Linked DNA regions of Homo sapiens: region 1 is linked to region 2. The links are contacts of gene promoters, found by promoter capture Hi-C in blood cells and fetal thymus (Javierre and others, 2016). All regions are on one chromosome and are shown on one strand. Each heading gives the region's core, a stretch centred on a gene start or on the middle of the fragment in contact. The rest is flanking DNA. Distances are from core to core; before and after follow the strand shown. Region 1 has its middle 3.4 kb from the start of ZFYVE16. Region 2 holds the start of TMEM167A (transmembrane protein 167A).

What was found. Contacts are between HindIII fragments. The CHiCAGO score rates a contact against its expected background, and 5 or more counts as called.
Region 1: a contact is called between a fragment that was not itself captured here and the fragment with the promoter of TMEM167A in region 2, in 3 of 17 cell types (total CD8 T cells, total B cells and naive B cells). The highest score is 9.7, in total CD8 T cells.

Annotation. Positions count from the first base shown.
Region 1 is chr5:80,402,652-80,406,658 of GRCh38, forward strand. No RefSeq gene overlaps it. Among named protein-coding and RNA genes, the nearest start is that of ZFYVE16, 3.4 kb to the right of the region's middle. The HindIII fragment of the contact is 2,574 bases long and covers 1-2,546 here.
Region 2 is chr5:83,075,457-83,079,301 of GRCh38, forward strand. It overlaps TMEM167A (transmembrane protein 167A), which reads right to left and starts at 1,938. Exons shown (of 4, transcript NM_174909.5): 1 at 1,865-1,938. The coding sequence starts at 1,867. XRCC4 (X-ray repair cross complementing 4) reads left to right here and starts at 2,091. Exons shown (of 8, transcript NM_003401.5): 1 at 2,091-2,159. RefSeq lists enhancers at 1,054-2,019, 1,676-1,945, 2,020-2,985 and a silencer at 2,006-2,095. The HindIII fragment of the contact is 1,765 bases long and covers 1,157-2,921 here.

The sequences.
Region 1 (4,007 bases), core at 10-2,509, 2.7 Mb before region 2:
AATCACCTTAATATAATAAAACACAATTTAATTCTAAAAATTCATGTAACTTTATCTCTATTTTCTTTGTCAATTCAAAAGCACTGCAAGATCTTGCAATGACTGCAAGATCAATAGGAAAAACAATGCAATTATGTTTAATAAACTGTCTGGGCTTGGTGGCTCACTCTTCTAATCCCAGCACTTCAGGAGGCCAAGGTCGGTGGATGGCTTGAGCCCAGGAGTTCCAGACCAGCCATGGGCAACATGGCGAAATCCTGCCTCTACAAAAAATACAAAAGTTAGCCAGGTGCAGTAGCATGCGCCTATAGTCCCAGGTATTTGGGAGACTAAGGCAGGAGAAACACTTGAGCCACAGAGGTTGAGGCGGCAGTGAGCCGAGATCGAGCCATTACACTCCAGTCTAGGCAATGGGAGTGAAACCCTGTACCAAACAAAACAAAACAACAAAAAAAAAATGAATAAGTGTTTGTTGAATTAAACACCAGTTATTCCTCTTTTTTACTGTTGATATAGAAAGCTCATAAGATTTATTATGTTTATCAACAAATCATTGCTATGTCATTAATTTATTGTTTGTCATATATTTCTAAAGAACTCAGAAAAAATATTGGTTATTTGAGCTTTTTGACTTTATAACTTTAAGTAAATACAGTTGCTGTATTAAATACAAGGATCTACAGCGATTATCTGAGCACCACAACTAAAACTTTCCTTAGAGAATTGAAAAGCCTCTCTCACAAGAACCAATACTAAATTATAGCACTTTGTACAAAAGGAGAATGGGCTGTTGAGAGTGTGTTCTTCAGTTTGCTGTTTTGATAAAGGCCTTGACCAGTAAGTGTTGCTGTACTTAACAAAGTAGTTATAACAGCCTGTACTTAACAAAGTAGTTATAACAGCAGGGAGAAATCCTGAACTTCAGGTTTTGTTTATGGATGAGCAACAATGTTCATACTGCGAGAACACCTGGTTTACTTATAAGATAAAGGCTGAAAACAGTAGGTGATCAATAAATGACAGCTATTTATAAAGTGGTTCTTAGTAATAAGTGATGATACGTGTGTCTGGTGCAACTGAACAATAGGAATGGAGCATTTTTCTGTGCCAGAGTACAACTGACCAGCTGTCTGCTCCATAAAACTGGTCATTGTAGATTTTTTATCTCTAATCTAGTTAACTTTGGGTACTACTTGGTACAAAGTTTAATTTTCATTGGTATAGGGCCTTATGTAGAAGTTCAAAACCCAGTTCTGAATTTCTGAACTCACATTTGTGCCGCTGTGGTCATCAGAAAAAAAAAAAAAAAAGGAACTGTTTACTAGGAATTGGAAGAAATATACTAGCTTTAAACCACTCACTGGCTAAATCAGGGTTTCTCAACCTTGGCACTGTTGATATTTTAGGCTGAAAACTTCTTTGTTGTTGGGGGTTCTCCTGTGAATTGCAAGACAGTTAGCGGCATCCCTGGCCTGTATCTATTAGATATCAGTAGCATTCTTTCAGTGGTGACAACCAAAAATGCCTCCAGAGATTGTCAAACGTCCTCTGGGAGGCAAAATCACCCCTCACCTCCACAGAGAACTATTGGGCTAAAGTAGTAGTCATTGATTTGAACTTTGGTTTGTTGGTTGATTTCATCTATTTTTACTACTTTATAGATCAGAAGTTTTGTGGAACCCAAATTAAATACTCTTTCAAAGCATAATTAGGAAAGGTTATTATAATTCTAAACATCTACTAAAAGTATTGCAATTGCTTTGTTAGCAGATTAAATTTTTAGTAGACATTTGGCATTAAAAGGTAATCAAAGGCTACAAATTTTATATGAACAAACTTATTAATTCTCCTTAAAAAACAAAAACAGAAACAAAAACAGAGCAAACGAGTCTTCATATAGTGACAAACATGTGGAGTGGTCATCAAGTCCCTGTATCTTATTCTCAGTTTAGTAGACTAAGAAATTCAGTTTTAAAATGTATTTGCAAGTAATTGTGCTCCAGGGAACTTATACTTGCATTAGCCAAATTCATAGGCTACTGATATAACAACATGGATGTAACTGATCAATTTATAAAAAGAAATATAACCATCAAGAATAGCAATTGTTAGGCTGGCACAGTGGCTAATGTCTGTAATCCCAGCACTTTGGGAGGTTGACTACCTGATTACCTGAATTTGAATTCTAATTGGGAGGATTGCTTGGGCCCAGAAGTTTGAGACCAGTATAGGCAACATAGTGAAACCTTGTCTTTAAAAAAATAAAAATAAAAATTATCTGGGCATGGTGATGCACGCCTGTGGTCCCAGCTACTCTGGAGGCTGAGGTAGGAGGATCACTTGGGCCCCAGGAGTTGGGGCTGCAGTGAGCCATGATCCAACCACTGCATTTCAGCCTGAGTGATATAGTAAGATCCTGTCAAAAAAAGAAAAAAAAAAGAATAACAGTTATTCATCATTTACAGTCAGTGCTTCAGTTAAGTACTTTATGTGGATTATCTCAATCAATGTATTAGTTCTATTAGCATTTGACTACAGGAGCATCAAGCTTAGAAAATTTAGGCCACACAACTAATAGGTTATAGAATTAGAATTCAAATTCAGGTAATCAGACTCTAAAGACCATACTTGAAATGACAGGGGAAATGGATTCTTAGGTTTCCTGGTCAACTTATCACACTTGTTACATTAGAGGTTTTTTTCTTTTTCCCCAGAATATAAAGGTAATATATAGATGTTGTAGAAAATGTAGACTGTCCAGGATAATAACATCTACATTCTAATCAGATAGACATGACTACTATCAACATTTTGATATACTTTCTTCACTCTTTTACATACATTGTATACTATAGCTGACCTCATACTACATAGGCAATGTTAAATATTTTTAAATATTTAAAATGTTTTTTCATGAGGTAATTTCCTCAGGCCATTAAAAATTCTTTGTAAACATAATTTTAATAGTTTTAATCACATACATGCAGTAATTATTTTAACCATTCTCTTAATGGTGGATTTTCGACTTTTATCAATTTACTTACTATGGTTAAGTATCTTTCCATAGAGATCTTCGTCTTCTGGACTACCTTCTTATAACTTCCAAAAGAGAAATGATCAAATTGGGTCATGTGAACACTCATAAGGTTCTTGATATGATTTGACAAATAACTTTCCAAAATCTTTGTCCCAATTTATATCCCTCCCAGGGTATAAGTGTCCACTTCACTCTTCTGTCACCAATCGAGTTTATTCACATTTTAAACAGATTGGGTAATTAGATGCCAGACAACCTCTTTTTTGTCTCTGTTTATTATTAATGACTTTGAATATTGATTGGTAAAATGTGTAGTAGGCATTTAAATTTCATATTTTGTGAACTGACCATTGTATATACTTTCCCCATTGATCTATTTAAGGTGTTTGTGTCTTTTTTCTATTCTCTTTACCCTCACACTTTACCGTATAAATACTTCTGTCCCCAGTATGCATTTGTATATGTGAGTCTCTGCTACTAGACTGTGGTTCCCCATGGGCAGTGGCCCCATTTTATTTTATCTGTGAACAATGCCTAACACATAGTAGGAAAAAGGCATACTGTAGTTTGTAGAATTATTCTTAGGATTAAATGAGATAACGTAAGCAAAGCATCTAACACACTGTCACAAAGCAGATGCTCAATACACACATTACTTTAGGCAATCAAAAGTTTGGCTATTTCATTTTGTTGTTTAGGAAAACCAAGGTTAAAGATTAAGTATCTTTCAAAGATCAGGAACTATAGTTGTAAACTGCAGATTTAAGATGCGAACCCTGATTCTCAAATCTTTCATCACAAATCACATGTGGCTGGAATACTCGAAAAATTATAATTCTTGCAATTTTTTTTTTTTCTTTTTTGAGACGGAGCCTTGCTCTGTCACCCAGGCTGGAGTGTGGTGGCTCGATCTTGGCTCACTGTGACCTCTGCCTCCTGGGTTCATTCAATGGTCCTGATTGTCCTGCCT
Region 2 (3,845 bases), core at 688-3,187:
AGATTCTTGGCTGGGGACGGTGGCTCACGCCTGTAATCCCAGCACTTTGGGAGGCTGAGGTGGGAGGATCACGAGGTCAAGAGATCGAGACCATCTTGGCCAACATGGTGAAACCTCGTCTCTACTAAAAATACAAAAATTAGCCAGGCGTGGTTGTGCACGCCTGTAGTCCCAGCTACTCGGGAGGCTGAGGCAGGAGAATTGCTTGAACCCAGGAAGCAGAGGTTGCAGTGAGCTGAGATTATGCCACTGCACTCCAGCCTGGGCAACAGAGGGAGACTCCATCTCAAAAAAAAAAAAAATCATTAAAATACAGTAATTCAGGTTTATTAAGTCATTACCATTGGGTTACCTCACAAATAAACTAAGTTTAGATGCGAACTCAAAGATACTGAGACACTAATCCATTTCTTAAGCTGCTAAGTTAGCCTTCTTGAAACCTCACTTCGTAGCTCTGCAAACAATGTACTTTTGACATCCCAAGCTCACAGGAATAAAAAACCACCTGCCAGTTGTTTCCGTTTTCCACCTATGTCTAATTTATGTACTTATATTTATAAGAAACAAATCACTAAGTCTTATTTCATCCTTAGTTATGTTGTGTTTCTATCGATAACAGCATGAAGATTTCGGGGACCTGGACATTAAAATAAGTTTGAGTACTGGCTTTACAATCTACTAGGTGTGATCCGAGGCAAGTCAGTCTCTTCATGTTTCACTTCTTTCACTTGTAAACATCTATTCAGAAGTTGCTGTGAACTTGATATTTCCATGCTTATAAACTGATTTTTTGAAAAGAGCCTGGTACATAGGACGTGATAATAAATGAAAGCATTTGCTACTTTTGGAAAAACAAGCATGACAAGATAGTTTATATACTGTTGATCTTAAGCACAGTATATGCATCTTATTTTTAGCTAGTCTGACAGTGAGATAATAAAAAGAGTTATCTTTGACTTGCACTACGAGTAGAAGAATTCAACTTCAGTTTCTAGAAAGATGTATAAGAATTAAGAGTGGCAGTCTTCCTAGTCTCAACTGCCATCTTCCCACCAGGTGGTAAATTCGTCCAGAGAAGAAAATGAATTATTGCTATATGGGATTCTGCAGCAACTTCTGTGAACATAGGCTCATAATTTTTCACCATGGAGACTCAAGCTTTTTGGAGTCATAGTTGTTTTTGGGTCTATTTGCAGGCATGCATCCTTTGTCCAGAAATATACATAACATTTGGCACATGGACCTGGAGGTAAAAGAGGAGGAAGGCCTGAGGCTAGACACCACTCCAATAAGTACATTAAGCTCCTAGAAGGGCAATCCACCTTTGCAGAGAACTCTTAACTATTAAAACCTATAGCTTGTAAAGCAGCATTTTCAAAGTTAAGAGAAGAAGGTGGAAGGGTCTTGAGAGGCTACTGACTAAACAGATGAAAATGAAGGTATGGAGTTTGGTGCCAAAAGAAACTCCCCCCAAAAATCAAACAATAACACCAGAGTAAAGCCCCTAGGGCGAGATAAGGAGTTGCAACAAAACAAGCGGAAACTCGAGAAGCGCTAATGCTTCAAAGGGTCAATGACCACACATAATCTACGTAGCCAACGTGTTAAAACACACCAACGCATTTTTTTTTCCTAAACAAAGTAGGAAAGCGGACTTTGCATGAGGGGCGGGCTGCCGACCCAGCAGTCTTCCTCGGACAGTCCGTCCTGATTCTCTCTGGTTGGCCGTGGAGGGACCACATGGCTCCAAGGCCTCTCAGCTCCGGGCCCACACACCCCGGGCTGCCGCACAAACTCCAGCCCTAGTCTAGATCCACAACCCCTTCTCGAAGATCAACCGCGACCTGGGAGCCCCACTTCTTACCATAGCGAGGCCGGCGATGCCGCAGCCACATCACCCTTCCGGGGCTCAGGCGGAAGAGGCTGCATGTCCCGTCTGCCCTTCTCGCCCTCTCCAGCCGTCCGGTTGGGCTTGTCACGGCACCGCCTACCAAGACGGGCGGTTAAGACACTAGGATAGGCTCCTCTCCACCGGAAAAGGCGGGATTTAGATCACGTCCCGCAGGCCGGCGGAAGTAGCTGATACTCTCATTGGTTGCAAAACCTTGATCTGTGAAAGCGGGCGTTTTGGAAGATACCGGAAGTAGAGTCACGGAGAGGTAGGATCCGGAAGTGGGGCTGCCTCTTTAAATAACAAAAATCTGAGGTTCTGTTCTTTTTATCTTTTTGCTTTCTTTTTAAAAAAGTTCCCTGCTACTTACCCCTAGAACTCCACAATGCGAGAATCCCCCTCAATTTGTGAGCTCCCGCGACTTCCTCTTGTGGGCTTTTGGGGATGCTAGGGTTCTCGGCATTATCCTCAGGGTGCGACCTGTTCACCCCCTTTTCAGTTTCTCCGTTTGCATCTGAGGGATTCTTGGGAATGCGAAGCACTTTTGAAATGCTCTGTGTTGGTTGTGGGATTGGGAGGACGGTTGAATCCAGAGGGTAGTGTTGAGTAGGCTGTTTGAGCATTTCCCCAGCACTGGCCTGTCCTTTCAATCCCCAGATATTGGTAAACTGTGGGTTCCAACCAGGCATCGAGGCTGAAACGTACTAGGCAATTTGAGGTCAGGAAAGAACTTTCTGTGGTAACCAATGGGAAGGAACTGCCGTTTGCGGACTGCAGCGATTGATTAGGTACTTTAAAGAGATCAACTGGCAAGACAAATGACAAGGCAACTTTTAATCAGTAGTAGTATTTAGCTTTTTCTGATTTTAATTATCCCATTAGGTGAGGTTCTACTACACACACACGTTTTTCTTTCTGCATTTTATCGATGGAGAAACAGGCGCTTTGACATGTTTGAATTTGCGTAGTTCTTGGAATTCTAATAAAGTATTAGAAATGAGAGTTTTTCACTCTTTGCCCCCTTATGGCAAGCTTTTGGTTCTAAATGTGTGGTGTATTTTTTCTCAGGCAGGAGAGAGTTCTTTTCAGAATGTTTTCAATTTTTTATGGACTTAGAAGGTGGATAGAGAGAAAGAGAGAAGGTAACTCACGTGAGATTTTGGTTTATGAACTGTATTCGGCCTATGAGACCCTTTTGTATTTAGGGCAACACAATGATTAGAAGATTTGGGATTCTGCTATTTGTGTTTACATTGTTCACTAGGGCACACAAAGGTTTTGTTTTAAACTATAACTAACTTGATATTTGAGTCTGTTATATTGAATTGTCAAGAGTTGGTCAAATACACAAATTAGCAAGTATTTACTGGGTGCCTGCTTTATTCATGGATCTTCAGATTGCAGCATAGGAACAAAGATGGTCTGTTCCTTTAAGGAATTTAATAAGGTTGGGGGAGAGGGGAATAAGAAAGGTATTTAAAAGATACAGTACTCTCCACCTAAGGATAAAAAAAGTCTTTTAATGTTCTGTCTTGTAATTCCTTTATATTATACCTTTTAGGTCTTGCCATTCAAATTAAACAAACCTGGTTTAGTTATGGAAATTATGTTGTGCAATTTATCGAGCTTGGCTTTTAGGGCAGTAAATGTGTCTGTAGACATAACTGCCCTTGGTTTCATGTGAAGATTGTCTTGATCTTTGTTACATATAAAGGTAATACTTCTGTATGAAGCTCTGCTTCAGGCTACCTGTGAAAAGCATCAGAAAGCTTAACTTGTTAGAGATCACAATTGATTTGCTATATCTATATATTTTAATTAATTTTAGGCTATGACTTCTTATGTACCTGAGCTTCAAAACAGTAAAGAACGGCATTGCCAGTTTTTAAGTTATCTATAGAGAAACACATATGCCAATAAATGAGGCTGAACAAATATGTATAATGTTTATTGC